Linked DNA regions of Homo sapiens: all the other regions are linked to region 1. Evidence: promoter capture Hi-C in 16 types of primary human blood cells and fetal thymus (Javierre and others, 2016). All regions are on one chromosome and are shown on one strand. The core of a region is centred on a gene start or on the middle of the fragment in contact, and the rest is flanking DNA. Distances in the headings are between cores, read along the strand shown.

What was found. Contacts are between HindIII fragments. The CHiCAGO score rates a contact against its expected background, and 5 or more counts as called.
Region 2: a contact is called between a fragment that was not itself captured here and the fragment with the promoter of RADIL in region 1, in 1 of 17 cell types (M2 macrophages). The highest score is 5.5, in M2 macrophages.
Region 3: a contact is called between a fragment that was not itself captured here and the fragment with the promoter of RADIL in region 1, in 2 of 17 cell types (M2 macrophages and endothelial precursors). The highest score is 6.2, in M2 macrophages.
Region 4: a fragment that was not itself captured here is called in contact with the fragment with the promoter of RADIL in region 1 in 7 of 17 cell types (megakaryocytes, erythroblasts, endothelial precursors and 4 more); the score reaches 18.5 in megakaryocytes.

What each region holds. Positions count from the first base shown.
Region 1 is chr7:4,882,366-4,885,142 of GRCh38, reverse strand. It overlaps RADIL (Rap associating with DIL domain), which reads left to right and starts at 1,427. Exons shown (of 15, transcript NM_018059.5): 1 at 1,427-1,547. RefSeq lists a silencer at 1,396-1,615 and enhancers at 1,325-2,012, 2,013-2,701, 2,431-2,725. The HindIII fragment of the contact is 2,924 bases long and covers 306-2,777 here.
Region 2 is chr7:5,131,826-5,134,602 of GRCh38, reverse strand. It overlaps the pseudogene ZNF890P. Among named protein-coding and RNA genes, the nearest start is that of WIPI2, 57 kb to the left of the region's middle. The HindIII fragment of the contact is 6,666 bases long and covers 1-2,777 here.
Region 3 is chr7:5,101,261-5,104,037 of GRCh38, reverse strand. No RefSeq gene overlaps it. Among named protein-coding and RNA genes, the nearest start is that of RBAKDN, 31 kb to the right of the region's middle. The HindIII fragment of the contact is 4,338 bases long and covers 1-2,777 here.
Region 4 is chr7:5,085,104-5,087,880 of GRCh38, reverse strand. No RefSeq gene overlaps it. Among named protein-coding and RNA genes, the nearest start is that of RBAKDN, 14 kb to the right of the region's middle. The HindIII fragment of the contact is 5,458 bases long and covers 1-2,777 here.

The sequences.
Region 1 (2,777 bases), core at 178-2,677:
TGAGGTGGGTGGATCACCTGATGTTAGGATTTCAAAACCAGCCTGGTCAACATGGCAAAACCCCGTCTCTACTAAAAATACAAAAATTAGGTGGGCGTGGTGGTAGGTGCCTGTTAACCTTAGCTACTCGGGAGGCTGAGGCAGGAGAATCGCTTGAACCTGGGAGGTGGTGGTTGCAGTGAGCTGAGATCACACCACTGCACTCCAGCTAGGGCAATAGAATAAGACTCTGTCTCCAAAAAAAAAAAAAAAAAAAAAAAAAAAAAAAGCCAATCTTACTGCATTAAGTTTTTGAGACAAAAGCTTTTTTTGTCCGTATTGTGAGTTGATCAATAAGGAGACAGGAGCCTGGCTCAAATCTGTCTCTCTGTGTTGACTTTGAGGCACTATTTTTTATTAGAAAAGGTTTAGGAGGTGGACTTTAGGATTAGCAGGTGATAGGTGGAGGAAAGGGGAGGCCTGGAATGTCTCAGACATCTCTGTCTCACAAGAATTGATGTGAGCATTAAGTGAGGTGACCTAGGTAAAGTTGCCTAGGGCCTGGCACACAGGTGGTCAATAAATGTCTGTTCCCACACTCATCAATGTCTGCTCCGACCTCCATCGCGAATATGGGGTCATGACTACGGAAATCATACCACGATAGCTGTCCACAAAAAGGTTCACTCCCGAGGCCCACATTCTGCATATTGATATTCCGAACCACCTGAATCTCCCAGGTCTAGCCCACATTCCTCAAAGGGAAAACCCCAGCCAAAGTGCCGAGGTCACGAGCTGCTTTTTAAACAAGTCCCCAGGGAGAGCAGTTGGGGCCAGAGCCCCAGAGCTGACCTGGTCATTTTTTTGCATAATTGTAAGCAGGAATGCCATGACCTGATTTGTCTTTTAAAACTCTGGGTGGGAGACAGATGGTAGGGGAGAGGAAATTCCTCCCTTGTTCCTTTTCGATGTCTTAGAAGATGTTTATTAATTGGGGGCACAGCTCTACCCTCCCCTACACCCACTCACTGGGCTACTAGAAGGTGCTGTCTCGAAATAGCCCACCCAACCGCAGGAGCCCAGAGCCCACAAGCAGCTCAGGGACTTAGAACTGGTCCCACCCTTCCTCCGGGGACCCCCCCTCCTTAAGCTGCAGTCTGTGGGTGGGCTGCAAGTCCCGCCTCTCCACAACCAGCCCCACCCCTTTCTTCAAAACCCCGCCTCTCCGGTGAGGCCCCGCCCCCTCGAGGCTGCATCCCCGTCCATTGGGCGGCCGGCAGGAGGCGCCAGAGCACAGCCCGCCTTTTCTAGCAGGTTGGCCCCGCCCCTCTCCTGGAGACCCCGCCTCCTCGAGGCTTTCTTTCTGCCTATTGGGCGCCGAGGCCCAGCTCCAGCCCACCTGTTCTCCCCCGCCCCACCCTTTGTGGCCCCGTCCCCTTGAGGCCCCGCCCCGCCCGTTGCGCCGCCGGCAGGAGGCGCCGCGGCACGCGCGGGTCTGGGCGCCGGCCCCAGCCAACGGCGGGTGGGAGCAGCGCGGGAACGTGGCGGCGCGGCGGGTTGTGCCGGAGGTGAGTGTGGGGTGCGCGAGGAGTGACTGCGGAACCGGGGGTGGCTCGTAAGGGGCGCTGCTCGGCCGCTGCCGGGGACCTGGGGCGCGGAGGCCGCGGGGCGCGCTCGGGGACACTCCCGGCCGCTGGTCGGGGCGCGGAGGGCAGGTTTGCCCAGTTGCCATGGGAACCGACTGGCTGTCGGGCCCCGGCCTGGACCGGGGGGCGGTACCCGGAGGCCGGCTAGCGCGGGCAAGGGCGGCCCAGCCTGCGGGGATCCGGGGGTCCGCGCTGCCGACCCCCGAGAGCTCCTGAGCCTGGCTGTCCGCGTGGGCCCCGGACCCCCAACTCCAGGGGACTCTCGGCCCTCAGTTTTCCCGGCTGTGCCCTGGAGGGGGAGCTTCGTCCGGGGCGCGCAGCGGGGGAGCGGGGCGCAGCGGGGGAGCGGGGCGCAGGGTTCCGCGCGCTCTCCCACCTGGGCCGGCGAGACGTCCCCTGCACATACCCCGTCCCGGTTGCAGCCCGATCCCCACTCGTGCGCCAGCTCAAAGCATTGTTTCCCGGCTATTTATGTACCATTTCCAGCCCCTCGACAAATACTGCATCCAAGATAACAGATGCTGAGCCGAGCTCCTGGGGCCTCGCAGGAGGAGCCTGTTGGTGGGGTTGGCAGGGCCCTGGCGGGGCTGCGGACCATCCTGCCCTGCCCTGTCGCCTGTCAAGTGTTTGGCTAATCTGAATTGCACAGAAGAATCTGATTGCTCGTGTCCCGCGGTTAATATAGGCCACCTCTTGTGCATTCCAGACAGGAACCAGTCTTGAAAGTCCCTTTTGCTGGGGGGCAAGTCGGTCTCCTCTCCAGCAGCTAGCAGGTCAGAATTAAATCTGATTGAATTATGTTTGCATTTGAAAGCGTGGCTCGGGCTGGGGCTGTAAAGATAGGATTCATGGAAGGAGGGGAGAGAGCTGAGTGTGTAAAGTCTGCGCTTCGTTTTCCCTCCTGCTGGAAATGATAATGGGTTCCACATTGTCCTGTTGGAGCAGAGAGGTCGCTCCACCCATGTCGTCAGCGCAGCACTGACCTCACTCCCTGTACTCGCCGCTGGGACTTGAGCTTGTTTTTCATCAGAAACTGGACCCTTCCTTGAGAACAAGAGAAAACATTCTCTAAGAGCAGCACCAGCCAGCGCCCCACACCCTCGCTGTCCGAGCCCTGCGCTTTCCCCAAGTATTTGTGTCACAGAGGAGCGA
Region 2 (2,777 bases), core at 115-2,614, 250 kb before region 1:
TGGGATTACTGGCGCCCGCCACCATGCCCGGCTAATTTTGTATTTTTAGTAGAGATGGGGTTTCACCATGTTGGTCAGGCTGGTCTCGAACTCCTGACCTCAAGTGATCCACCCGCCTCCGCCTCCCAAAGTGCTGGGATTACAGGCTTGAGCCACTGTGCCTGGCCCAGAATTTTTTGTTTATAGATGTATGTTTACAAACTTATTACATGTGCTGTAGTTTGTAGTTGATGTATACAAACAAGAAACAGGCCAGGCACAGTGATGCATGCTTGTAATCCCAGCACTTTGGGAGGCCAAGGCGGGAGGATCACTTGAGGCCAGGAGTTCGAGACCAGCCTGAGCAACATAGCGGGACCCTGACTCTACAAAAAGCATATATATATGTTTTGGTTTTTTAGACGGAGTCTCACTCTGTTGCCCAGGCTGGAGAACAGTAGTACGATCACAGCTCACTGCCACCTCCACCTCAGAGGCTCAAGCGATTCTCCTGCCTCAGCCTCCCAAGTAGCTGGGATTACAGGGGTGAAACACCGCGCCTGGCCTCTACAAAAAATAAAAATAGGCCGGGCATGGTGGCTTACGCCTGTAATCCCAGCACTTTGGGAGGCTGAGGTGGGTGGATCACCTGAGGTCAGGAGTTGGAGACCAGCCTGGCCAACATGGTGAAACCCCATCTCTAGTAAAAATACAAAAAATTAGCCAGGCTTGCTGGTGTGTGCCTGTAATCCCAGATATGTGGGAGGCTGAGGCATGAGAATCACTTGAACCCAGGAGGCACAGGTCGCAGGAAGCCGAGATTACGCCACTGCACTCCAGTCTGGGCAACAGCAAGACCCTATCCCCTCAAAAAAGTTTTCTTATAATTTTTTGAGGGGGATGGAGTCTTGCTGTGTCGCCCAGGCTGGAGTGCAGTGGTATGGTGCAATCTTGGCTCCCTGCAACCTCTGCCTCCCAAGTTCAAGAGATTCTCCTGCCTCAGCCTCTTGAGTAGCTGGGATTACAGGCACATGCCACCACACCCGGCTGATATTTGTATTTTTAGTAGAGATGGGGTTTCACCATATTGGCCAAGCTGATCTTGAACTCCTGACCTCAGGTGATGCACCTGCCTCGGCCTCCCAAAGTGTGGTGATTACAGGCGTGAGCCTCTGTGTCCGGCCTGTTTCTTCAGAATAAATTTCTAGTAATTACATTTTTGGGTAATGGGTGGGGATTGTAGTAAATTGCACATTGGTTACTGAGACACAGATGCACATACTCATTAAGAAAAACTTCAGTCAGTCGTGGTGGTTCACCCCTGTAATCCCAAGGTTTTGGGAGGCTGAGGCAGGCAGATTGCTTGAACCCAGGAGTTTGAGACCAGCCTGGGCAATACAGTGAGACCCTGTCTCTACCAAAAAATTTAAAAATTAGCTGGGCATGGCTGGGCGCAGTGACTTACGCTTGTAATCCCAGCACTTTGGGAGGCCGAGGAGGGCAGATCACGAGGTCAGGAGATCGAGACCATCCTGGCTAACACGGTGAAACCCCGTCTCTACTAAAAATACAAAAAATTATTCAAGCATGGTGGTGCACGCTTGTAGTACCAGCTACTCGGGAGGCTGAGGCAGGAGAATGGCGTGAACCCGGGAGGCGGAGCTTGCAGTGAGCCGAGATAGCGTCACTGCAGTCCGGCCTGGGCGAAAGAGCAAGACTCTTGTCTCAAAAAAAAAAAAAAAAAAATATATATATATATATATATATATTAGCTGGGCATGTGACACACCTATAGTCCCAGCTTCTCTGGAGGCTGGGGTGGGAGGATCGCTGGAACCTGGGAGTCCAGGGCTGCATTGAGTCGTGATTGCATCACTGTGTTCCAGCCTGGGCGACAGAGTGAAACCCCATTTCAAAAAACAAAACAAAAATCCAAGTAAGGCCTCACAAGATTGAGTCTCTATGACATTTGTAAGGTGAGGGCTTTGCTTTGATAATGGGGACCCTTCAGAGGAGGTTTTCTCCCACCTGCGCCTGGGAGAGGGCGGGGGTGGTCCCAGCAGTTGATTGGGAGCCCAAGGGCAAGCGTGGCCTCTCATATCCTCTCTCCCCACCCTGATGTCTGCCTTCACAGGTGTCTGCTTTTCCAGAATAGAGAAGAAGAACTATGGCCCAGGTGAGTGTGGCATTTCTTTCTACTGCCCTTTTTAGCAGGGATTTCGGATGCTCATAAGAACATGACTGATAAAGGCTGGGCGTGGTGGCTCACGCTGGTAATCCCAGCACTGTGGGAGGCCAAAGTAGGCGGATCACCTGAGGTCAGGAGTTCAAGACCAGCCTGGCCAACATGGTGAAACCCTGTCTCTACTAAAAATACAAAATTAGACAGGTGTGGTGGCACGAGCCTGTAATCCCAGCTACTCAGGAGGCTGAGGCAGGGGAATCACTTGAACCCAGGAGGTAGAGGTTGCAGTGAGCTGAGATCGTGCCATTGCACTGCAGCCTGGGTGACAGAGTGAGACTCTGTCTTAAAAAAAAAAAAAAAAGGGTATCCGATAAAACAAAATACAAACGGAAATCAGGATCGGTGAAAACAGGAAGAGAATGGAAGATCAAGGTTGTGGGAAGGGCAGGGTGGAGAGACTGTAGAGGCTGCCGCAGTTATGAGATGCCTTATAAATTTTTTTTTTTTTTGAGACGGAGTCTTGCTCTGTCACCCAGGCTGGAATACAGTGGCATAATCTTGGCTCACTGCAACCTCTGCCTCCTGGGTTCAAGCGATTCTCCTGCCTCAGCCT
Region 3 (2,777 bases), core at 172-2,671, 220 kb before region 1:
TTAGTTTAGAAACATGGGGTTTCACCATGTTGGTCAGGCTGGTTTTGAACTCCTGACCGCAGGTGATCCACCTAACTTGGCCTCCCAAAGTGCTGGGATTACAGGCATGAGCCACCATACTGGACCATTTTCCCCATTCTTATACATACCTCTCCAATATCACAATGACCTTTTCCCACCTGGAAATTTACTCATTCTTCAGGCCCAGATGAAACGTCAGCTCCTCTGTAAACAAAAGTAAGAGCGGAGTCAACTGTAGAAGGATTTTGTAGGAAATGGGAGGAGACGGACTCTACCACACCTTTCTCCCTTATCTCTGTCAATCTTTCAACTTCTATTCCCAGTAAGAAGGGAATACTTATACTCTTAATAAGAAAATAGTTACTTAATAGGTTTCCCAGGGCCCACTTAAGGGTCTGGCTTGATCCAAAGCCCCAGGGCCTCATTACTGATCTTCTCCCCCAACACTGTGGTGCCTAAGTGACAGGATGGTCTCTGAAGGATGAGGGCTGGAGGGATGAGAGGGAGTGGAAGAGTTGGGAATTCAAAACTGCCGAATCCTGGGGGAATCTGAAACTTCTGGGCTAAGGGGATAAGAGGCCACCTCCCTGCAGTGATGAAGAGACTGTACAAGTCTTGGGATAAACTTGAACCTAGGAAATGAATAGCCAAAATACCTATCTCCAGAGAGGTAGGCAGCTCTCTGGAGAGAGGAGAGGAAAGTTACAGCTCTGTCCACATTTTCTTAAAATGTAAACCAAAGGGTGGCCAGAAGACGGATGATCTCAGAGTGGACTGATTCTTGGTGTAATGTGATCAAGATGGTGGACTAGGAGGTCCTAGCCCTTGTACTCCCACAAAAACAATGATTTAACAACTATCCACAGACTAAAATAGCTCTGGGAGAACTCCCAGAGTCCAGTTAAAAAGATGCAGCCACCGAGTAGAGCAGAAAAGCCAAGAATAACTGCATAGAAAAGAAACATGACATCACCAAAGGAACACAACACATTTCAAATGACCAACCCCAAAGAAAAGGAGATCTATGAATTAACTGAAAAAGAATTCAAAATAACTGTTTTAAAGAAGCTCAGCATGTTACAAGAGAACACAGATACAACTCGTCAAAATCAGATAAACAATATATGAACAAAATGTAAAGTTCAACAGAGATACAGAAATCACAAAAAAAGAAATTCTAGAGCTGAGGTGAACAAGGACTAAAATGAAAAAATGCCATTTAGAGCTTCAACAGCAGTGGCTTATGCTTGTAATCTTAGAACTTTGGGAAGCTGAAGCAGGCAGATTGCTTGAGGCTAGGAGTTCAAGACCAGCATAAGCAACACGGCAAAACCCTATTTAAAAAAAAAATTTTTTTTTAAATTATCAGGGTATGGTGGTGTACACCTGTAGTCCCAGCTACCCAGGAGGCTGAGGTGGGAAGATCACGTGAACCCAGGAAGTCAAGGCTGCAGTGACCCATGATTACACCACTGCACTCTACCCTGGGTGACAAAGTGAGATCCTGTCTCAAAACAAAACAAAACAAAAAATCAATGAACATGAAGATGAAGATAAGTCATTTGAAATCATTTAGTTAGAGGAGAAAGAGAGGCTACAGTGAGCCATGATCATACTACTGCACTCCAGTGGGAAACAGAATGAAGGAGGGAGTGATGAGAAATTGGTTAATAAGTACACAAATACAGTTAGATAGAAGGAATAAGTTCTTGTGTTTCATAGCACAGTTGGGTGACTATAGTTAGCAATAATTTATTGTATATTTCAAAATCGCTAGAAGAAAATATTTAAAATGTTTCCAACACAAAGAAATGACAAATAGTTGAGGTGATGGATATCCTAATTACCCTGATTTGATCAATACACATTGTATGCATGTAGTAAACCTTGAGGCCAGGGTTTTGAGACCAGCCTAGGCAACAAAGCAAGACCCTGTTCCTGCGGGGAAAAAAATTAAACAATTAACCAGACATGATGGTGTGCACCTGTGGTCTCAGCTACTTAGGATGCTGAAGCAGAAGGATCACTTGAGCCCAGGAGTTCGCAACTGCAGTGAGGCAGGATCACACCACTATACTCCAGCCTGGGTGACACAGCAAGACTTCGTCTAAAAAAAAAAAAGTTGGGCTAGGTGCAGTGGCTCACACCCATAATCCCAGCACTTTGGGAGGCTGAGGTAGGTGAATCACAAGGTTAGGAGTTCGAGACCAGCCTGGCCAATGTGGTAAAACCCTCTCTCTACTAAAAATACAAACAATTAGCTGGGCATGGTAGTAAGTGCCTGTAATCCCACCTACTCGGGAGCCTGAGGGAGGAGAATCGCTTGAATCCAGGAGGTGGAGGTTGCAGTGAGCCGAGATCGCGCCCCTGCACTCCAGTCCGGGCGACAGTGGGAGACTCTGTCTAAAAAAAAAAAAAAAAAAAAAAAAAAATTCAGCCGGGTCTGGTGGCTGACACCTGTAATCCCAGCACTTTAGGAGGCCGAAGTGGGCAGATCACCTGAGGTCAGTAGCTTGAGACCAGCCTCACCAATGTGGTAAAACCCTGTCTTTACTAAAAATACAGTATTAGCTAGGCGTGGTGGCACGTGCCTGTAATCCGAGCTACTCGGGAGGCTGAGGCAGGAGAATCACTTGAACCTGGGAGGTGGAGGTTGCAGTGAGCCAAGATCGTGCCAATGCACTCCAGCCTGGGCAAAAAGAGCAAAACTCCATCTCAAAAAAAAAATCTCATCAAAGAAGAACCACAGATTCACT
Region 4 (2,777 bases), core at 128-2,627, 200 kb before region 1:
TCACACCTGTAATGCCTGCACTTAAGGAGGCTGAGGCTGGAGGATCATGAGGTCAGAAGTTCAAGACCAGCCTGCCCAACATGGTGAAACCCCGTCTCTACTAAAAATACAAAAAATTAGCTGGGCATGGTGGCAGATGCCTGTAATCCCAGCTACTTGGGAGGCTGAGGCAGGAGAATGGCTTGAACCGGGGAGGTGGAGGCTGCAGTGAGCCGAGATCATGCCACTGCACTCCAGCCTGGGTGACAAGAGTGAAACTCCATCTCCATCAATCAATCGATCAATCAATGGGACCCCAGAGAGCTCCCTCTTTTTCCACCACATGAAGACACAACTAGAAGTCTGTGATCTGGAACCCAGAAGAGGACCCTCACCAGAAGCTGACCATGTACCCTGATCTCAGATCTTCAGTCTCCAGAGTTGTGAGAAATAGATATCTATTGTTGATAAGGCAGCCAGTCTATGGGACTTTGTTATGGCAGCCGAGACTGTCAAAGACAGCTCTAGAGGGGCTATGTGTCCAGGAGGGGATGAATCAGTCTTTTACTTCTTCTTTTTAAGACAGGGTCTCGCTCGGTCACCCAGGCTGGAATGCAGTAGTGTGATCTCAGCTCACTGCAACCTCTGCTTCCTGGGCTCAAGCGATCCTCCCACCTCAGCCTCCCAAATAGCTAGGACTACAGGCACGTACCACCATGCCCAGCTAGTTTTTGTAATTTTTGGTAGAGACGGGGTTTCGCCATGTTGCCCAGGCTGGCCTTGAACCTCTGAGCTCAAGTCATCTGCCCACCTCGGCCTCCCAAAGTGCTGGGATTACAGGCATGAGCTGCCGCGCCCACCCTCTCCTTTACTTCTCAGCTGTGAATGTTCTCCCATATCCTCGGACTCCCAGCCTGCTCCCAGGCTTCACAGTCCTATCTGATGAAGTAGGGGAGCACCAGCCACCCCCTTATCTCTCTAGCTCAGTCTATCCCCTCCAGGGGCTCTGGACTTCTCTCCAGGGCAGCCTGACCTAGGGGCGACACAGGAGTTTCCTTGACACTGGTACTATCTCTGAACATCTCTGCCTCCATCTCTGTTTTGAGGCTGGTCCATGGAGTCAATGAAGGGGTCCCCTCCTCTCCCCCAAAACCCTCATCTTAGCTCCTGCTTTTCCCAGGCCCTAAGATCCTGGGGGCAGGTCTTGTAGAGGGGGAGCCCTTGTGGGGGGCTTCAGGTACCCGCACTCTTTAGGAACAGGCACAGGTCTTGATGTTGCAGGCACAGGTCTGGATATTGATGGGAAATTGCGGTCAGAGTGGACAGCACCACCCATTCCCGGCATCTCCCATGATTTGGTCTTCAAGCCTTCACCTCATTCTCTGCCCACCTGGATCTTGTCAGCCCCAGAGAGAACCTGAGTCCAGAGGAGAAGCAGAACCCAGGCCACTGGGCAGTGGCAACCGCACAGACACCGACATCCCTGGGAGAGCCTGAGCCCACCGCCCAGAGCTCAGAGCCTGGAATAAGCAGCCCAGCGAAGAGCCCCGCTCCACCGCCCAGAGGAGCACCAGAGTGAGCTCGGCCTGGAACCCAGAGACCATCTTCAAAATCTCATCCCCAACCTCTCATAAATGCCACCTTGTCCCTGGCCCCCCTGTAATTACTTCAGCCCCTTGTTCCCTTCACAGCAGTAATTTTTTTTTTCTTTTTGAGACAGAGTCTGCCTCTGTTGCCCAGGCTGGAGTGCAGTGGTGCAATCTCGGCTCACTGCAACCTCCGCCTCCCGGGTTCAAGCAATTCTCCTTCCTCTGCCTCCCAAGTTGCTGGGATTATAGGCCAGCACGCCAGGCTAAATTTTTTTTTCTTTTTTTGAGACGGAGTCTCACTCTGTCGCCCAGGCTGCAGTGCAGTGGCGCAATCTCGGCTCACTGCAAGCTCTGCCTCCCGGGTTCAAGCGATTCTCCTGCCTCAACCTCCGGAGTAGCTGGGACTACAGGTGCCCGCCACACGCCCGGCTAATTTTTGTATTTTTAGTAGAGACAGGGTTTCACCGTGTTAGCCAGGATGGTCTCGATCTCCTGACCTCGTGATCTGCCCGCCTGGGCCGCCCAAAGTGCTGGGATTACAGGCGTGAGCCACCGCGCCCGGCCGATTATTTTAATAAGATGATTGAACATCTTCCTTATTAGATTGTAACCCACAAGGGCATTTATGTTGCCTGCGATGTCCCCCGGTCCTAGGGCAGCCCACCTGCTGATGCAGTTCTGAGTGCTGCCACCAGGGGGCAGGGCTGCCTCGCACTTGTCATGGGGACAGCGGCAGGACCCTCAAGAGGGCTTTAACTTGGTTGGGTTCGTATCTGCACCGGGCCATATCTGCACCTGGGAATACTCCACTCCCTCCCTGAGGTGTGAGTGGGGATGCTCCCAGCTCCAGGAGACACAGCTGTGGTGTCGCTGGCCAGGGTGCAGCTTTCTAGAGAGGTTCCATTTTCACACCTCCAAGTTCAGACCTTTTCTTTCCCTCTGCAGACTGGGGCGAGCGACCACCCAGCCCAGTGTAGAGGGGGTCTCATGTCTTACCACTCTTCATTTACACTTTTTTTTTTTTTTTTAAAGACGTCGGGTTAGCTCACCCCTGTCATCCTAGCACTTTGGGAGCCCCAGGCAGTCAGATCACGAAGTCAGGAGATGGAGACCATCTTGGCCAACATGGTGAAACTCCATCTCTACTAAAAATACAAAAATTAGCCGGGCATGGTGGCGGGCGCCTGTAGTCCCAGCTACTCAGGATGC